Linked DNA regions of Homo sapiens: all the other regions are linked to region 6. The links are contacts of gene promoters, found by promoter capture Hi-C in blood cells and fetal thymus (Javierre and others, 2016). All regions are on one chromosome and are shown on one strand. Each heading gives the region's core, a stretch centred on a gene start or on the middle of the fragment in contact. The rest is flanking DNA. Distances are from core to core; before and after follow the strand shown. Region 1 has its middle 3.5 kb from the start of AP4E1. Region 2 overlaps LYSMD2 (LysM domain containing 2). Region 3 has its middle 3.6 kb from the start of TMOD3. Region 4 overlaps GNB5 (G protein subunit beta 5). Region 5 has its middle 5.2 kb from the start of BNIP2. Region 6 holds the start of RSL24D1 (ribosomal L24 domain containing 1). Region 7 holds the start of GABPB1 (GA binding protein transcription factor subunit beta 1).

Region 1 (2,700 bases), core at 62-2,561, 4.3 Mb before region 6:
TTTTTGAGACGGAGTTTCGCTCTTGTTGCCCAGGTTGAAGTGCAATGGCACGATCTCAGCTCACTGCAACCTCCGCCTCCCGGGTTCAAGTGATTCTCCTGCCTCAGCCTCCCAAGTAGCTGGGATTACAGGCATGTGCCACCACGCGCAGGTAATTTTGCATTTTTAGTAGAGATGGGGTTTCACCACGTTGGCCAGGCTGGTTTCGAACCCCTGACCTCAGGTGCTCTGCCCGCCTCAGCCTCCCAAAGTGCTGGGATTATAGGCCTGAGCCACCACACCCGGCCAAAAGAAAAGCCTCAGGATTTAAGAGTTTATACTTTATGAGGTTGTACTTTATGAGTACTTCCCATTTTGTCACAAAAAAAATTTTTTAAAAAGTGCACTCAAAGACTGAAATTTAATAAAATTAAGAATTCTTACTGCTTCATCAAGGATATTCTTAAGTGAAACTGACTTAAAAAAAATTGAGTGTATTGTTCCAGGATAAACTATGAGATTCAAAGAAGTTGTTCAATACATTATTTCATCACCACTTGTGTTTCTTGTCAAGATTTATGTAAAAGAGGATCTTCAAGAATTAGTTGGTGCTGACACTGGATGGGTATAAGCAAAGCAACAAGTCCAGCTACATGAATAATTATGTCCATTTTAAAGGAATTATAATTCTGCAGATGACATAGTAACTCAGTCTTTATATTTGCAACTAAATTTCTTTCTTTTTTTTGAGACAGTCTTGCTCTGTTGTCCAGGCTGGAGTGCCGTGGCACCATCTCAGCTCACTGTAACCTCTGCCTCCCAGGTTCAAGTGATTCTCCAGCCTCAGCCTCCCGAATAACTGGGATTACAGGCATGTACCACCATGCCCAGCTAATTTTTTTTTTTTGTATTTTTAGTAGAGACAGGGTTTCACCATATTGGCCAGGTTGGTCTCAAACTCCTGATCTCAAGTTATCCGCCTGCCTTGGCCTCCCAAAATTCAGGGATTACAGGCATGAGCCACCTCGCCTGGCCTGCAACTAAATGTCTAATTTGGTGAGTTATTGCATCTTTGGAAAGTAGCACTCCCATGAGTTCTTTTACTGATTATCAGCTAGCAGGCATTCATTAGTCTTTTAGCTATTGCATGTCCTTCTCCTATCAATGAAATATAATAATTTCATGTGTAAGATGCTTCAGTAGGTTTTTCATTTTTACTTTGAAAATGGTAATACAAAAGCTTTGGCTTTTATAAAGCATATCATCTCTATGTTGAAAGTATTAAATTCCCTTTCTTTTAAATTCTGACTGGTCTGAAAATGATGCCTCAACTTGATTGGCACCATAATAGTATTTGAAAATGTTCTGTTGAATGACATAAAATAAGGCAAGTGATTAACATCTCTAATGCCAAGGGAAAGAAAGAAGCTTTTGTCATACTTTCCTTTGTTATTTATAGTTTCGACCAGATTTCTCCCTTTCCCTGAGTCAGTGAATTCTGATACTGATGTCAGCTTCATCTTTTTCGGCATCTTTACAGACGGGAAGGTTAGAAAGCGAATCTTCTAGTATCCCCTTTTTAAGCCAATGGAAGAACCTAAAATTAAAAAACTATACATAAAACAAAATTTAATTTAAAGATAAAATATTAAATTCCTTTTTTTTTTGGAGACAGAGTCTTGCTCTGTCACCCAGGCTGGAGTACAGTGGTGCGATCTTGGCTCACTGCAACCTTCGCCTCCTAGGTTCAAGCAATTCTCCTGCCTCAGCTTCCCAAGTAGTTGGGACTACAGGTGTGCCACCATGCCCGGCTAAATTTTTTGTATTTTTTTTTTTTTGAGGTGGAGTCTTGCTCTGTCGCCCACGCTGGAGTGCAGTGGTGAAATCTCGGCTCACTGCAACCTCCGCCTCCCGGGTCCCAGCAATTCTCCTGCCTCAGCCTCCCGAGTAGCTGGGATTACGGGCGCACGCCACCATGCCCGGCTAATTTCTGTATTTTTTTAGTAGAGTCATAGGTTGGCCAGGCTGGTCTTGATATCCTGACCTTGTGGTCTGTGCACCTTGGCCTCCCAAAGTGCTGTGATTACAGGTGGGAGCCACCGTGCCTGTCCGAATATTTTGTATTTTTAGTAGAGACGGGGTTTCACCATGTTGGCCAGGTTGGTCTGGAACTCCTGAGCTCAGACAATCTGCCCGCCTTGGCCTCCCAAAGTGCTAGAATATAGGCATAAACCACCGCGCCCGGACGACAAAATATTAAATTCTAGGCAGGGCGTGGTGGCTCACACCTGTAATCCCAGCACTTTGAGTGGCTGAGGCGGGCAGATCATGAGGTCAGGAGACCGAGGCCATCCTGGCCAACGTGGTGAAACCACATCTCTACTAAAAATACAAAAAATTAGCCGGGTGTGGTGGCACGCACCTGTAATCCCAGCTACTCGGGAGGCTGAGGCAGGAGAACTGCTTGAACCTGGGAGGCGGAGGTTGCAGTGGGCCGAGATCACACCACTGCACTCCATCCTGGGCAACAGAGCGAGACACCATCTCAAAAAATAATAATAAAATAACAAAATTAAATTCTAAAAGAGTATCCCTTTCTGGCTGGGCGCAGTGGCTCGCGCTTGTAATCCCAGCACTTTGGGAGGCTGAGGTGGGCGGATCACCTGAGGTCAGGAGTTCGAGACCAGCCTGGCCAAAATGGTGAAACTCTGTGTTTACTAA
Region 2 (2,700 bases), core at 135-2,634, 3.5 Mb before region 6:
AGGCAGGTGGATCACCTGAGGTCAGGAGTTCAAGACCAGCCTAGCCAACATGGTGAAACCCCATCTTTACTAAAAATACAAAAATTAGCCAGGCATGATGGCAGGTGCCTGTAATCACAGCTACTAGGGAGGCTGAGGCAGAAGAATCGCTTGAACCTGGGAGGCAGAGGTTGCAGTAAGCCGAGATTGTGCCATTGTACTCCACCCTGGGTGACAGAGTGAGACTCCATCTCAAAAAAAAAAAAAAATTTGTTTCTCCCCCAAAGTAAGAATATATAGGGAAAATCTCACATGGATAAGCCCAGATGAATACCATAATATATCATCACTGCTTTGAGATGTCACAAAAGGCTTTGAATAGGTTTTTCAAAAGGTAATGAAAATCTTAACCTGTTCTTTACAAGCTATGGCTTAGGCCAAATGCATAGGCTCTAAACTCTGTTACCCATGATGAAATATGAAATCAGACATGCAAAGCGCCAGGAATAAAAGCATTCCATCTAGAAAAAGGAGTAGCAAATGCCCTGGGGCAGGAAAAAAATCATGTGGCTAAAGTGTAGGGAGTAATAAGCAAACTTCCAACCAGGCAGGGCCTTGGGTGCCAAGTTAAGGAATTTGGAATTTATTTTAAATGTGATGAGAAGCCACTGGAGAGTGAAGGCAGGGAGTGACATGATCTGATCACAGTTAAAGATTGCTTCAGCAGCTGGGTGCAGAAAATGGATTAGCAAGAAAGAGGCACCTGCCATAGCACAGACAACAAACTGAAAAATACAAAATGGTGAAACGATGTTTTCTTTTGCTTTGGTATGTTTTTATTTATTTATTTTTATTGTTTTTGAGATGCAGTCTCGCTCTGTCACCCAGACTGGAGTGCAGTGGCACGATCTCGGCTCACTGCAACCTCTTCCTCCCGGGTTTAAGCTATTCTACTGCCTCAGCCTCCCAAGTAGCTGGGATTACAGGTGCATGCCACCATGCCTGGCTAATTGTTTGTATTTTTAGTAGAGACGGGCTTTCGCCGTGTTAGCCAGGATGGTCTTGATCTCCTGACCTTGTGATCCACCTGCCTCGGTCTCCCAAAGTATTGGGATTACAGGCATGAGCCACCGCACCTGGCCTCCTTTGGTATGTTTTATACTTCTGTCTGAACGTAGCTGGGTCTACTGTTCTGGCAATTTCACTTCATATAAAGCTAAGAAAAGTCATGATCCAATCCAAGGAAGAGCTGGAAAACTCTATAGCTTTCCCACCTACCCTCTGTTCAACACTTCCTAAGATCCAATTAATGCTGAGACTAGAAAATGTGTCCTTTCAAACTGATGCAGGACTATCCTCTGTTTCTTAGGGATGGATGAATGGGAGTGGGGAGGTACACTGATCAAATGCTTTCATTTCAAAAGTCTCCCTTAACCTAGATTGAATAGTGTAACTCAATGAAATATGAATTTACTGTCTGGTCACTAAGAAACAGTTTATAGAATAAGGAAAGTAACAGCCAAAGGGTGGTCACAAGTTCAAGTATGGTGAAATTAGGTAGAACAACTGCCATCAATAACTTAAAAACAACGTACTGAAAATGACTCCCCAGCCAGGCGTGGTGGCTCATGCCTGTAGTCCCAAAACTTTGGGAGGCCAAGGCAGATGGATTGCTTGAGCCCAAGAGTTTGAGACCAGCCTAGGTAACATGATGAAACTCCATCTCTACCAAAAAGTATCCCCCAAAACATTTAGCTGGGTGTGGTGGTGCACTCCCATAGTTCCAGCTACTTGGGAGGATGAGGCAGGAGAATCGCTTGAGCCTGAGAGGTCAAGGCTGTAGTTAGCCAAGATCTCGCCACTGCGCTCCAGGTCAGGTGACAGAGCAAGACCCTGTCTCAAAAAAAATTTTTTTTAATAAAATAAAATACAATGATTCCCCTGTGAAGGGAATTCACAAAGCATCCCTCCAGAAGATACCTTAAGAGCAGGCTGCTGAGTAAGGTCAAGAACTCTTCCCATCTTGGGCCAGCATCATCAGTCCACCTACCTAATAGTGAATGCAATTCTCAAAACTTCTTTTTCTTCCTCTCCATTCCTTAAAAGATATAAGCTCATCCAAAAATGTTTCAGGATACATAATAACATGTACATAGCACTGTGTGGCTTGCAGAATGTTCTCATATACGCACACAGCTCTCATCTGATTATTAGTTTACAGAAAACAGACTTCAATATTAAATGATTCTCCCAAGATTCACCGCCACATCTGTCTCCTGTTACATTCTAGATGTTGATGGCAATGAGACCAGACCCCTCCATTGCTATGTGTTCATGAGAAAAAGGCTTTTTTTCTTCCCCACACTGTCAGAAAAGTACATGAGATTCTATTTATGGCAAATGTCCAAAAAAGGCAAATCTATAGATTAGAAAGCATATTGGTGGTAGTCTGAGACTGAAGAAGGAAACAAAGAGTGAGAGGAATGGATGGGCATGGGGATCTTTTCGGGGTGATGAAACTGTTCTACCACTGAATTCCAACAATGGCCTCACAACTCTGTAAATTTACTTAAAGTCATCGAATCGTACACTTAAGATGGGTGAATTTTGTGGTGTACAACCTCAATAAAGGTGTTTAAAAAAATAATGAGAATCTACAAACACCCCGAATGACTAAAGGCTACTTTGCCATACCTCTCACTTTTGGTGGCTCTATTTATA
Region 3 (2,700 bases), core at 96-2,595, 3.4 Mb before region 6:
CTGGCCAACATGGTGAAACCCCGTCTCTACTAAAAATACAAAAATTAGCCAGGCATGGTTGTGCACACCTGGAATCCCAGCTACTTGGGAGGCTGAGGCAGGAGAATGGTGTGAACCCGGGAGGTGGAGCTTGCAGTGAGCCAAGATCACGCCACTGCACTCCAGCCTGGGTGACAGAGAGAGACTCCATCTCAAAAAAAAAAAAAAAAAAAAAACCGGTATGTACCCAGCCATGATGTTTGTCTTCTGTGATTGCTACCTCCCACTGCTTCCATAGGATTCCTACCTCCAAGCTTCCATAATGAAATCCTTCCCTTTTCATTTCAAATTTTTGTCTTTAGTTTTTCTCAGCTCTCCTATAAATACACGTTTTTACATACACACAAAATATGCTTACATATACCAAAGTAACTATTTCCTAAAGGAACTCTTTGATAACAAGAAAAGTGCTGCTGTTATTAATTAGCATACGATGATTCAGTGTGACATGCTTTCTGAGTTATTCTGGCTGGAAGTTTAGAGATAACACTAATTAGAGCTTGTAATATTAACACATAAAGTAGAGTTGAAGTGTCATTTTATCAATCACTTTCACTCTAACCAAACCCTGAACACTAATGGGAACCATACTCTGTCCCTTGTTCAAATATTTTACCTGAAGGCCTCAGATTTGTTCTCTGTAGTGTGTTAGCCTGTTGAACTTCAACAGTTTTCCATTACTTGAAGTGGGTTAAATGCAGACGGTTGGGGGTGCCATACCACTTCTAGTTCAGATCATCATGTTTCTTTGATTAGGCACTATAGTAGTCAGCTTTTGCTAAGTAAGTCTATAGTAACAAACGAACCTAAACCTCAGTTTCCCCTTCGCTCACATTATATATTATGTCAGCTAGTGGCTGAGGCTCTGATCCATGTAATTTCTTATTCTAGAACCCAGGCAGAAGGACCAGCCTCTATTCAGAACTTGTCTCTCTTGGTGGAGGGAAAGAGCAGGCACACTAGTAGAGAAAGGCAGTGACTCTTAAAGCTTCCACCCAGAACTGTCGGATTGTCCCTTCCACTTATATTTTATTGACCAAAGCAAGATTCATGTTTCTAAACTTTGTGATTACAATATGACATTTAACCGAAGAGAGGAGGAAAATCCCATCATGGGATCATAGCCAAGCCTGGAATGCCTGCGGGGCAGCACTGGAAGTCACATAGTAGTGGGCAAGCCTGTCTATTCCTCTAAAGGAGAGCAAATATGTGGGAACAATATTTCAATCTACCACAGGTATTTAGTGGACTTACCTTTTCACTTATTTATGTAAATCTAATTTCCATGTTTTTCCTGTTTGTTTTCCTCCAAGAATTATGTTTCCAACTCTAAGGGAATAGTGGCAACCCTAAATTATAGCCTTTTTAAAAGAGAGCTCTGTCTCTATTTCAGGACTTTCACAGGATCTTATTCTCCTGTGTAGTCAACCCTCTTGCAGCTGGTGTTTACATCCAAATCAGGTCACTGGCTGGCATTTACAGGTGAACCTTCTGGGTCTGTGTCCCAAGAGGAGAGTAGGAGAGAGAGGGAAGAACCCAACATTCATTTATTTACAAATATTTATTGAATACTTTCTGTGTGCAGGCAGTATTGTAGATGCTAGGGATGGAGGAGTAAACAAAGCAAAGCTTGTTGAGCTTCCACTAAGGAAACAAGCAATATGAAGCTATGTGGTAAAAGTGCTATGACGACAAGTAAAGAAAGGAGAGAATGGCAGGGTAAGGTGGTAAGAGGAAGACTTTCAGAGGTAACATGTGAGCAGAACCTTCATTAAAATGAGGGCATGAGCTAGAAGCATCTGGGAGGAAAATCATTCTCCTGCACAGCATAAAGACTCTGAGATGGGGAGAAACTTGGCAGGATTAAGAAACCTCAGGGAGGCCAGTATGACTAGAGCAGTATCAGAGAGAATATGTGGTAGGAAACAAAACAATCATATACAGATTTGTAGAGGTGTTAATTATGGATTTTATTCTAAATGTGATGGAAGCCATGAACGGTTTGGAGCAAGATGGTGATATGATCTGATTTGTTTTTAAAAGATCATTCTGGGCTGGGAGTGGTAGCTCACGCGTGTAATCCCAGCACTTTGGGAGACCAAAGTGGGCAGATCACCTGAGGTCAGGAGTTCAAGACCAGCCTAGTCAACATGGCGAAACCCCGTCTCTACTAAAAAAATACAAAAATTAGCTGGGTGTGGTGGGGTGGGGGGCCTGTAATCTCAGCTACTAGGGAGGCTGAGGCAGGCAGAATTGCTTGAACCCCGGAGGCAGAGGTTGCAGTGAGCAGAGATCACGCCACTGCACTCCAGCCTGGGCGACAGACAGAGACTCCGTCTCAAAAAAAAAAAAGTCATTCTGGCTGCTAATATAGCGAATGTGTTATAGCAAAGGAGTGGAAGAAGTGAGGAAGGTTCTACCTCTTCAGTGCTATCCAATACTAAGGTATTACTCTTAACATCTCTGGCCCCATATGTGGTATTTAATGTACACGGATTTAAGAGATTCATGTTTATAAGCTTTGTGATAAAAATATGATAATGTATGCCTGAAGAAAGGAAAAAATCCACCATCAAACTGCATTATTTTAGAAAAAGGAACTAAAATAAGATGTATACATTCGTTAGGAAAAATTTGAAATGAATAGCGAAAATATATTTA
Region 4 (2,700 bases), core at 56-2,555, 3.0 Mb before region 6:
GATTACCTTAGCTGATAGCCTAAAGGGGTCTCCCTGACTAGGGCAGAGGCTACTGGGCCACCTATATAGCAACACTAAAATGCAAAAATGTACAGGCATCTAACACATGTTGCTCTGGGGAATAAACCATACCCCTCTGGTGTCAGCCGCATACCCTAATTTGGTACTATAAAACTCATGTGTCTGGCCACACATTCCCAATTCACAGGAAACCATCCTTGGATTCCAAAATGGGAAATATCTGCAGAGGTCATCACGAAGCAGGGGCTGGGAATCTCAGCTGGGCAAGAAACAAGGCCTGTGTGTGTCAGAAACAAATCTGTCAGGCCAGGCACATTAGCTCACGCCTGTAATCCCAGCACTTTGGGAGGCTGAGGCGGGCAGATCACCTGAGGTCAGGAGTTCAAGAACAGCCCGTCCAACATGGTGAAACCCGGTCTCCACTAAAAATACAAAAATTAGCCAGGCATGGTGGCACATGCCTGTAGTCTCAGCTACTTGGGAGGCTGAGGCAGGAGAATCGCTTGAACCTGGGTGGTGGAACTTACAGTGAGCTGAGATTGTGCCACTGGACTCTAGCCTGGGCGACAGAGTGAGACTCCGTCTCAAAAAACAAACAAACAAACAAACAAAAAACGGCCAGGCGCAGTGGGTCACACCTGTAATCCCAGCACTTTGGGAGGCCAAGGTGGACGGATCACAAGGTCAGGAGTTCGAGACCAGCCTGGTTAACACAGTGAAACTCTGTCTCTACTAAAAATACAAAAATTAGCCAGGTGTGATGGCATGTGCCTGTAATCCCAGCTACTCAGGAGGCTGAGGCAGGAGAACTGCTTGAACCCAGGAGGTGGAGGTTGTAGCGAGCTGAGATCATGCCATTGCACTCCAGCCTGGGCAACAGAGCCAGACTCCATCTCAAAAAAAAACAAAACAAAACAAACAAACAAACAAAAACATCTGTTAACTAAGGGGCTGCCAGTCACCATAAGAGATACAGGAAAGTGCATGCTGCCAGCCCCTGCTCTGGGGAGTGAACAGATTCAGTTTATGGTCCTCCCCAGCCTCACCAGACCCTTCCCACCTTCCCCCAGGCTCTCAGCCACTTGCTCAATGGGGAGCCCTGCAAAGAAAGCTGCATCATTCCTAAACTGAATCCTGGCCCAATCACTAACCAGCTGCATGACCCTGAAGGAATTATTCGACTTTGCTAAGCCTGCTCGCTCATCGCACAGATGGGGATGATACCACTTTCCTTCATACAGGGAAAAATGACAGCACTGTTGTTTGCACCTGGCAGGGCTCTAGCTTATACTTCCACAAGTAAAACTCATCAGCATCCTTTCCTCCCTTTCCCACCTGAGTGCCAAGGGACAAACACACTTAGGAAGGAGCTGGGCGAGTCTGGGCTGGGGTAAGGTAAGAGCGGCTGCAGGGTCAACTATGGGACCAAGACAAGCTCAGAAATCATCTCTCGCTCTTCCACCTTCAGCTGTAACTTCCATTAGGAGCTGGCAAGTGGCACGCAAGGTAGGCTCTCTGATAAGAGGGAAAGAGACATTTGTCAAGAACTCTTACCCCAGGTCACTTACCTCTCACACTTCATTTCCCTCCCTCAAGCTGTCTTGTTCTGCCACAAAACATGGCAGGCAGAGTGAGCCCAGTAAAGCAATCAGATCCATCCTCTCTCTCAAAACCCTCCAAGGGTTTCCCAACTCACTGGGAGTAAGAGCCCAAATCTTCACTGCACCCATGGGGTCCTGCATGAGCTCCCAGCATAACCTGCAGCTGGACTCTGCCCTGCATACTCCCCTCCAGACACACCTGCCTCCTCACTCTTCCTCAGATACATCAGATACACCAAACACACCCCCTCCTGGGGCCTCTGCCTAGCTCCTCCTTTTTTTTTTTTTTTTTTTTTTTTGAGACGGAGTCTCGCTCTGTCGCCCAGGCTGGAGTGCAGTGGCAAGATCTCGGCTCACTGCAACCTCCAACTCCCTGGTTTAAGCTATTCTCCTGCCTCAGCCTCCCAAGTAGCTGAGATTACAGGCACCTGCCACCATGCCCAACTAATTTTTGTATTTTTAGTAGAGACGGGGTTTCACCATGTTGGCCAGGATGGTCTCAATCTCCTGACCTCATGATCCACCCGCCTTGGCCTCCCAAAGTGCTGGGATTACAGGCGTGAGCCACCCTGTCGGTCCGAGACCCTGTCTCTTAAAAATAAAGATGAATAAAGAAAAGAATGGCTGAGTGCGGTGGCTCACACCTGTAATCCCAGTACTTTTGGAGGCTCAGGCGGGCAGATCACTTGAGGTCAGGAGTTCGAGACCAGCCTGGCCAACATGGTGAAGCCTACTAAAAATACAAAAATTACTTGGGTGTGGTGGCACATGCCTATAGTCCCAGCTACTTGGGAGGCTGAGGCAGGAGAAACACTTGAACCTGGGAGGTGGAGGTTGCAGTAAGCCAAGACTGTGCCATTGTACTCCAGCCTGGGTGACAGAGGGAGACTCCGTGTCAAAAAAAAAAAAAAAAGAAAAGAAAAGTAGAGAAATGAGAGAACCTGGCTGGGAGATCAGGAGACATGTCAAAGGGGAAGAGGTCAATACAGTGATAAGAACCTTCAAGAAGCAAAGGCTTTATGCGGGGTAGAAGAGAAGTGGTCTGGAAGCTGCAGGGGAATCAAGAGGGACACAACCA
Region 5 (2,700 bases), core at 43-2,542, 4.5 Mb after region 6:
TTTAGCTGGGTGTGGTGGCACACATCTGTAATCCCAGCTACTTGGAAGGCTGAAGCAGGGAAATCGGTTGAACCTGGGAGGTGGACGTTTCAGTGAGCCGAGGTCGCGCAACTGAACTCCAGCCTGGATGACAGAGCGAGACTCTGTCTCAAAAAACAAACAAACAAAAAAACCCACTGTATTCCCTGTGTTTCCAGACTTTTTGGACAAGATTTAGGGTATTTTTACAATTACTTATTGTTTCCTTGAATAGGCAGATATTTAAGCTCTTAAAAATTGGGGAAAAATTCCGTGGAAAAAAAAGCATGGCTTCCAGCCCTTATGCCCTACATAGCAGGTAACACTTGGAGAGTGATACATTAGCTCAGAGCCATGGTCAGCCTTTTCTTGTGTAGTTTTTGGTGTTATGTTTAAATAGGCATTCCTCACACTAAAATTGTATAGTCACTGTTGTTTTCTTTTTCTTTTTTTTTTGAGACGGAGTCTCGCTCTGTCGCCCAGGCTGGAGTGCAGTGGCGTGATCTCGGCTCACTGCAACCTCCATCTCCTGGGTTCAAGCAATTATCTGCCTCAGCCTCCCAAGTAGCTGGGATTATAGGTGCCTGCCACCACGCCCAGCTAATTTTTATATTTTTAGTGGAGACAGGGTTTCACCATTTTGGCCAGGTTGATCTTGAACTCCTGACCTCGTGATCCGCCCGCCTCAGCCTCCCAAAGTGCTGGGATTACAGTGAGCCACTGCGCCCGGCCCATCACTGTTGTTTTCTTCTGGTGGTCTTATAGTTTCTTTTTCTTTTTTCTTTTCTTTTTTTTTTTACATATGAATATTAAATCCAATTGGCATTTTGTGTATGTGCTTATGATATGAATAGGGAGTCTGACTTTACTAAACTGACTAAAGAGTTTGTGTAAAAGCATTTATTGAATAATCCAGTAATTCTTGAACTCACCTAGGACTCAGTCAAATGAATGTTTACTTTCAAAGTTGTCATTTTAGATTACCCACTTCTTTCAAGTATCCATTCATTTGATACATCTTTATTTACTTATTTAAATATTTATTTAGAAATGGGGTCTTGCTATTTTACCTAGGCTGGTCTCGAACTCCTGGCCTCAAGCAATCCTCCTGCCTCAGCCTCTCGAAGTGCTCTGCCATGCCCGCTTGAGATATATATATATATATGTTCTGAGACAGGGTTTCACTCTGCCATCTAGGCTGGAGTGCAGTGGCACGATCTTGGCTCACTGCAACCTTCGCCTTCTGGGTTTGTGCCTCAGCCATCAGAGTAGCAGGACTATAGGCGTGTGCCACCACACCCGGCTAATCTTTTTACTTTCATTTTTTAGTAGAGACAGGGTTTCGCCATGTTGACCAGGCTGGTCTCCAACTCCTGACCTTAAGTGATCTGCCTGCTTCAGCCTCTCAAATTGCTGGGATTACAGGTGGGAGCCACCACACCTGGCCAGTAAATCTTTATTGAACAATATCATAAATCAATGCTGTTGGGCCCCGAGGATGCAGGAAAAAAAAAGACATAGTATCTGCATTCAAAGAGCTTATCAACTGGTTAGGGAGAGGAGCAATGAAGACAATAAACAATTTGGTGGATTGAGGTGACCTTGGTACTTTTAAGGTGCAGCTAAATTGAAGGGAGCTAAACAGATTAGAGAGTGGGAGATAAAGGCAGTAGAGGTTTTCTGAATGAGGAGATCTTGAGCTTAGTAACAAGAGGATGATCTTTCTGGCAGAGGGAATTGGAATATGCAGATTCACAGAGGCTTCTAGGAACTGCAGTGTTCAGCATGACCAGAGCACAAGCAATGGGAGAAGGGGTGGCTGTAAATAGCCCTTAACAAAAAGGAAGTAGTCAAAGGCCAGATTAAAAAGGGATTTTTTTTAATGGTAAGGATTTATTTGTAGCCAATATAATGAGCAATGTGGAAAAGGAATCATCTATTAATTTATAATCGAATTCCAAAAGAAGAGATTGAAAGGTATCCTGCACAGTGGCAGCAGCGTTAGGATGAGTCCTCCTAAGACAACGAACTTTGAGAAAGGCAGCACTCATTTGAATATATGCTTCAGTATGTGTTAAAAGCATTTATGATACTTTGTCACACTTTGTACATTAAAATAAAAGTGCTCAGCCAACATAGACTTGGAAGAGGTGTTGAGCCTGTGCCGAGAGTGGTGGATAGTGATGAAAGGCTGAAGGCATGGACATGATGGCTAGACGGGGAGGCAGAAGACACCATCTGACCTATGCTAACAGGGAGTGATGTATCAGACTGATGAGAACAGGCCCTCTGACAACTTCTTGAAAGAATGATAATAGGCCAGGTGTGGTGGCTCGCACCTGTAATCTCAGCACTTTGGGAGGCCGAGGTGGGCGGATCATGAGGTCAAGAAATTGAGATCATCCTGGCCAAAATGGTGAGACCCTGTCTCTAAAAATACAAAAATTAGCTGGGCGTGGTGGTGCGTGCCTGTAATCCCAACTACTTGGGAGGCTGAGGCAGGAGAATTGCTTGAACCTGGGAGGCGGAGGTTGCAGTGAGCTGAGATCATGCCACTGTACTCCAGCCTGGGTGACAGAGTGAGACTCTGTGTCAAAAAAGAAAAAGAAAAAAAAAAAAGAATGATAACAGTGTTCAGGGTGAGTGGTGGAGCGGCTTTTCTCTGGGAAGCTCTCTCTATTA
Region 6 (2,700 bases), core at 81-2,580:
TCGTAACGACATCATGTATAAAACCATACTGCCTACTCTGAATTAGACCCCAACCTGGCAATCTTTTGGTTCATTTTTATAAACTTCTTATCATGTTCCTGAGAGCAAGTATTCAAAATCTTCTAGGTTCTTTTACGTTATCAAACATGGCTTTGGTCCGTCACTTTCAGCTGAATCCCTTGGATCTAATTAATGAGGTCAATATCTTTGATCTGTTACAGAGATATAAGGTGAAGAAGTCAGACTTGTAATTATTTAGCACGTCAAATTCACCTTAATATACAGATTCTTAGACCCTCTTCCCCTCCCCCAAAGATTCCAACTCAATAGATCTGGTGAAAACCAGGAATCTGTAAACGCCCAGTAATTCAGAAGCAAACGTAAGAGATCAAATTCTGAGAAACAATGTGTTTCTCTGAGAAAGAGAGGAACGGGATTCATTCTGTAATGACAGGACAAATTCATGTACCATTCAAAACGTCTTTCACAACTAGGACTCATATTTATTATTTACGTTTACAGACTTATTATACTTGTAGCCCTACGCCCAAGGCTCTATCATCATTTACAATCCAGTCACTTCCTCAAACAAATGTATTTGCTCCGTTCTCTGCCTTTTCTCAAAATGTTCACTTTCCTTCCACTTAGAAGGCCCCCTCCGCTTTCTTCCGCAAAATTCAGGATCCAAGATAAATATCACCTCTATGCTGAGTCTTTCCGTACAGGACCCTCCCCAACTCACCTGCAGTAACTTAATACATAACTCTACCATTAAGCAATACGGAACACTTCCATCAACCTCTACACTTTAGTATGGACCTTAGTGTAATGCCTGACAGGGTATACACTCAACAAAGTTTACTGGATTCAAGAATTTGGCCCAAGTACATGAGTGGCCAAACAGCCCTCACAGACATCCAAGATTCCTGGTAGGCGCTAGCTGGGATCGCTCCTGAAGTTCCTCGCTGCCAACGCCACCCAAGGGTGGCGTGGTGGCCAGCGCCGCTCGGAAGACGGGCAAGGAGAAACCCCCGAAGCGGAACGTTGAGAACGGAGGCCCAGTTAAGCCACCCTCCCAGGGGAACAACGGGAGGAACCCGGGCCAAACACGGCAGACGCAGAAGCACCCAGCACCGAGCCGCCGCGCCCAGGAACCGCGGGAGCTAGGCTGAAGCAAGAACTGGTGTCGACCGCCTTACCTTGCAATCGTTGCGGACGAACATCATGCCGTGTCCAGGATAGATGGGCCCCGAACAGAAATAACACTTTTCGATACGCATGTTGAACCCGCGTGTAACCCCACCAAACAAACGCCAAGCTTGAGAGGAAGTGATGCAACCCCGTCACCGGAAGTTACCTTCTTCCCCCTTCCCCGACCGGAAAAAGGCAAGCGTCCTTCGTTCTCGCGGGTCTGTTAGACCAGATGCGAACACGACTGTGCCTCCGGCGGCCGTGTGGTCAAATGCGCTGCCGTTTGACGCAGGCGCAGAGCTGCAGACTAGACCTGTTCGCTGTTACTTTGGGGAAATGTGGTTCTGCGCCACCTTGTGAACTTGCTCTCACAGCGCCTAGTTTTTTCTCTCTGTGTGTCGGCATTTATGCAAGTATTATGTATCTTTGGTTTGTGCTTTGCCTCGGAGTGCTCTCGAGAGCACTCTCTTAACTCATTTGTCTACTGCCTGCCCTAGACCAGCCCTCGATTCTCGTCCCACAGTGATTTGCAGGGTGTAAGCGGCGAAGACCCTGCAATCCAGCGTTGCTTCGAACATTGCAATGAAAACGGTTGAGTTGCTGATGCTCCAAGGACTTTACCAGCAATTTTTTTAAATATAAAATCGTGTTATCCGCCTCCCCCCCATTTTAATTAATATGCATATGTAGTAAACAAATATTTTCGCCGGAAACTACGACTCCCTCCCTAGACCTGCGGTCTTCCTCCCCAGGGGCAAAACAGTTCCATTTATTACCTGCCAGAGCTTTTCTGTGCATAGGCAAACATGTATATTTGTGTGTTTGCCTGTCTCTACGTCCTCTTCTTTATAATACTAGTTAATATGCTATTTACTCTTTTCTGCATCTTGCTGTTACCTTGTATCCCTTCATTGGAATGTGAGCTCCATGAGGGGCAGGGATTTCAGTTCGTTTGGTTTACAACTACATCCCAGTATCTAGAACAGTCCCTGGCACATAATAGGCATTTGATACATATTTTACTGTAAAAGGGTATTTAACATTCTTTTTCATATATATATGCCATTGTATGAAAGTATTTTAATTGGTCACTAATCGATGGGCATTCTTATCTTTTGATATAATAAGTATCTGTTGGTACGCTTTTTCAGGAGAGGGTTTATGTAGAACTGCTGGATCAGAGGAGCTGGATATAGATAAATAGTTTTAAAATTTGGCAGATAATACTAAATTGCCTTCCAAAAGTTTTTACCAATTAACACTCAGCATCAACAAATAAGATGTCTGTTTCACTACCCCGCTGTGAAAAGTGATCTTTGCCAACCTGAGATGAAAATTTATCTTATTATTATTTCAACTTGAATTTAATTACAAATGATGTTAAGAATCTTTCACAATGTTTTTCAGCTTTTTTCTGTGAATTGCCTGTTCAGGTCCTACGCAGTTTTCTATTCTTTCGTTGATTTTCAACAGCACTTTACACGTTAAGGTTAGTCCTTTGCTGACATG
Region 7 (2,700 bases), core at 201-2,700, 4.8 Mb before region 6:
TGACCACTAACTTCTGCATAATAAATGAGAGTGGATCTTTTAATTCTGAGATGGCAATGTACTTTACAAGGACCATTTACAGACTACATCAAACCTTTTTCTAGATAAAAAACGTACTTCAGTAACTTGCCTGAATTGAGAGAGCAAAACAGTCCGGAGAGAAAACTTAAAATGTTTCCACATTATCAAGCCCCCTTCAGAAGTACTGTGGTCTCGGCCCCTCCTTTGAACAGATGTCCGCTCGCCACAGTCCAATCAGGTTTAAAGCAAGAGTATTTGTACTGAAAACAAGCTTAAAGTGGGAAGACACACACAAAGCAGGCCTGTATCATTCCTTTGGTTTCAGTTTTCACGATGCACCCTTGAGGCTAGGCACGCTGATTCAACACACTTGGAGAGCTTCACCGAAACACACTAAACACACAGTGATGAACTGTGCCCTGGCAGAGATGACCTGGCAAAATTCTCAACTTCTTCCCTGAGGCAGTGCACCCGCAGTTCTCGGCGGCGAAGTCTTTGGGGCAGAAGTCCCGAGCCTTCAGAACGGCAGGCTTCTCCCCCTCAGGACTCCAGTCCCCGCGGCCAAGGCTGTCGCTGCGGGGGCCCCGCGCGGGACTGGCCAGGCTCTTCCATTAACCCTGTCTGGTCCGGCCGATCCCGCCGCGACCCGAGCGCCTCTCGGCCCCGCAGCACAGGGCGCCCAGGACCCGCCACCCTCGCCGCCCGTTCCCCTCTCCGGAGAGCCCGGCGGGGCCGTCAGGCTGCCGAGACAAAGGGTACCGCGGCGCCAGAGGCCGAGGCCCAGCCGCGCCTGCCTTCCTCTTTCTCCCGCCCACTGCCAACCTCCAGTCGCCCGCAGAACCTCCGCTGCCTCGGCGCGACCCCATCGCCACCCCGGGGCTGCCGCTCGGGACCGGCAAGCCGGGTAGCCGCGAGGCGGCCGCGGCATGCTAGGGCCGAGGAGGGGGCGGCGGCCGCCACCATGTCTGCCCGCCCCTCCCAGAAGCAGTGTGCCCAGCGGACAAAGCGCAGCGGCGGCGCGGGCGCCCAGGCCGACCCCGCCGACCCCCGCGGAATAAGCGGGGCCAGGAGCCCCGGAAACCCGGCGCCTTAATGCAATAAACAGGAAATCGCGGGGATGATCTGGGTTCCGGGGGAAGTGGAATTATTTTTTACCAGCGAAGAGATCAACTTCCACATCCGGTGGTAACAGGGCCCTACACAGACCCGCACTGACCTGGAAAAGCTTCGGGAGCGGCGACGGGAAGGCAGCAGGAGGTGGTGCGGGGACCCGAGGCGCCTCGTACCCGGCCGGGCTGACGCGGCCCCGCTACACACAAAGCGCTTCAGCTGCACAGGGCGCTATTTTCCGAAAATGCCGCGTCTGGTCGGCGCCCAAAATCCCCACCGAAAAGTCCCCCGTGCTGCGCGCGGAGGGACACATGGTGTGCGAGTGAGTCAAGCTCCCAGCATCCCTCCCGGACCCGGCCCTCTTCAGCTCATCGCCCGAGGATTTTCCGCCTCTGCCCTCGTCGGCAGATCCTGCTCCTACCCACTCCCTAGCTGTGTTCCCGCGGGGAGAGAGGGGAAAGAGGGTCTGATTTTTTAACGAAGGGAAAGAAAATATGCCATTTCTAGCGCTTCAGCCACACAAAGAAAGCGGCGGAATGATCCGCTCTCGGCGACCGCAAGTCCCGGCTCGCCCGGCGCCTGCGCGGCAGCGGGGGTGGGAGCTGCGGACGGCCATGTGCGCGGCGGAGAGGCCGGGTGGCCACCGAACCTTCCCGCCTGTTCTGCGGTGGGTAGGAGTTTGGAAACTAATGTTCCTGTGCTAACCTTCGTGTCTCTGTGACATGACTGTTGAAAGACGGAGAGTGCGGAATCTTTGGAGTTTTAAGCTTGCCAACTGTGCGGCCTAGCAGAATCCTGGGAGACGGAAGGACAGCCAAGAGGCTAGGATTTACCTTTAAGTGTCCCTAGATTCAACTAGGCAGACTGGGACGGGAGACGCTGTGAAGGTACCAGGGAAGGAACGAGTGAGGTTCCTTTTCCACTTTTTCATAAACTCAACAGTCAGGTTCATGACGAAGATATAGATATTTCTGTAGATTTTTTCCCCAACATTCTAATTATGCCTCATGTTTCGTAGATCCTAGTAACTGCTTGGATTACTGCCACCTCAGAGGTAGAGATCTGTTTTTCCGTGGCTGGAATGCCAAAAATTTTGTTGTATTTTATTAAGAAAGTAGCAAAAGTTTGGAGATTTGCAAAGTTAAAAAAAAAAAAAGCATTATGAACTTAATCTAGATGTGATTTGCTAAGGAACTTAATATATTGATATGTTTTTCACAGGGGCGTCTGGGCATGGCTTTCCCAACCTAGTAACTGCAACTTTTAGCATCCTACATGTAGGACTTGGGAATATGTGAGACAGCGCCAAGAATTTAATCCAGGAGAATTGACAAGCTTAAATGAAATCCATATTGCCCACTGATTTTGTGCAGCTTCAGATAAGTAATCTTTCTCCACTTAGCCTTTTGTAACAATTGATGTAATAAAGGTTTGTAGTCTTTGTGTAATTTATTAAAGCATTGTGCCTAAAATAGAAAAAAAGCATAGGAACCATAGGCTGTGTTTTCTTTTGATTTAATATTTTCATTTCTTCAGTTAATAGAAATTTGCCAAATTCTGATGTTTTTC

What was found. The method cuts DNA at HindIII sites, captures the fragments that hold promoters and counts their contacts. A CHiCAGO score of 5 or more calls a contact.
Region 1: a fragment that was not itself captured here is called in contact with the fragment with the promoter of RSL24D1 in region 6 in 3 of 17 cell types (non-activated CD4 T cells, total CD8 T cells and naive CD4 T cells); the score reaches 7.4 in non-activated CD4 T cells.
Region 2: a contact is called between a fragment that was not itself captured here and the fragment with the promoter of RSL24D1 in region 6, in 4 of 17 cell types (non-activated CD4 T cells, naive CD4 T cells, total CD8 T cells and 1 more). The highest score is 13.1, in non-activated CD4 T cells.
Region 3: a contact is called between a fragment that was not itself captured here and the fragment with the promoter of RSL24D1 in region 6, in 2 of 17 cell types (non-activated CD4 T cells and activated CD4 T cells). The highest score is 13.0, in non-activated CD4 T cells.
Region 4: a contact is called between a fragment that was not itself captured here and the fragment with the promoter of RSL24D1 in region 6, in 1 of 17 cell types (non-activated CD4 T cells). The highest score is 5.4, in non-activated CD4 T cells.
Region 5: a fragment that was not itself captured here is called in contact with the fragment with the promoter of RSL24D1 in region 6 in 1 of 17 cell types (fetal thymus); the score reaches 7.9 in fetal thymus.
Region 7: the fragment with the promoter of GABPB1 here is called in contact with the fragment with the promoter of RSL24D1 in region 6 in 1 of 17 cell types (non-activated CD4 T cells); the score reaches 10.2 in non-activated CD4 T cells.

What each region holds. Positions count from the first base shown.
Region 1 is chr15:50,903,870-50,906,569 of GRCh38, forward strand. No RefSeq gene overlaps it. Among named protein-coding and RNA genes, the nearest start is that of AP4E1, 3.5 kb to the right of the region's middle. The HindIII fragment of the contact is 188 bases long and covers 1,218-1,405 here.
Region 2 is chr15:51,728,637-51,731,336 of GRCh38, forward strand. The region is part of intron 1 of LYSMD2 (LysM domain containing 2); the gene reads right to left. Among named protein-coding and RNA genes, the nearest start is that of LYSMD2, 7.7 kb to the right of the region's middle. The HindIII fragment of the contact is 4,514 bases long and covers 1-2,700 here.
Region 3 is chr15:51,824,720-51,827,419 of GRCh38, forward strand. No RefSeq gene overlaps it. Among named protein-coding and RNA genes, the nearest start is that of TMOD3, 3.6 kb to the right of the region's middle. The HindIII fragment of the contact is 641 bases long and covers 1,026-1,666 here.
Region 4 is chr15:52,175,132-52,177,831 of GRCh38, forward strand. All of the region lies in intron 3 of GNB5 (G protein subunit beta 5), which reads right to left. Among named protein-coding and RNA genes, the nearest start is that of CERNA1, 3.5 kb to the right of the region's middle. The HindIII fragment of the contact is 4,470 bases long and covers 1-2,700 here.
Region 5 is chr15:59,693,188-59,695,887 of GRCh38, forward strand. No RefSeq gene overlaps it. Among named protein-coding and RNA genes, the nearest start is that of BNIP2, 5.2 kb to the left of the region's middle. The HindIII fragment of the contact is 5,936 bases long and covers 1-2,700 here.
Region 6 is chr15:55,195,611-55,198,310 of GRCh38, forward strand. RSL24D1 (ribosomal L24 domain containing 1) reads right to left here and starts at 1,331. Exons shown (of 6, transcript NM_016304.3): 1 at 1,200-1,331. The coding sequence starts at 1,280. RefSeq lists enhancers at 451-1,342, 1,136-1,295. The HindIII fragment of the contact is 1,416 bases long and covers 1,317-2,700 here.
Region 7 is chr15:50,353,748-50,356,447 of GRCh38, forward strand. It overlaps GABPB1 (GA binding protein transcription factor subunit beta 1), which reads right to left and starts at 1,451. Exons shown (of 9, transcript NM_016654.5): 1 at 1,238-1,451. GABPB1-IT1 (GABPB1 intronic transcript) reads right to left here and starts at 1,132. Exons shown (of 1, transcript NR_026891.1): 1 at 1-1,132. It overlaps GABPB1-AS1 (GABPB1 antisense RNA 1), which reads left to right and starts at 427. Exons shown (of 1, transcript NR_024490.1): 1 at 427-2,700. RefSeq lists enhancers at 435-494, 1,233-1,856, 1,925-2,004 and silencers at 625-834, 845-1,094, 1,675-1,724. The HindIII fragment of the contact is 652 bases long and covers 1,245-1,896 here.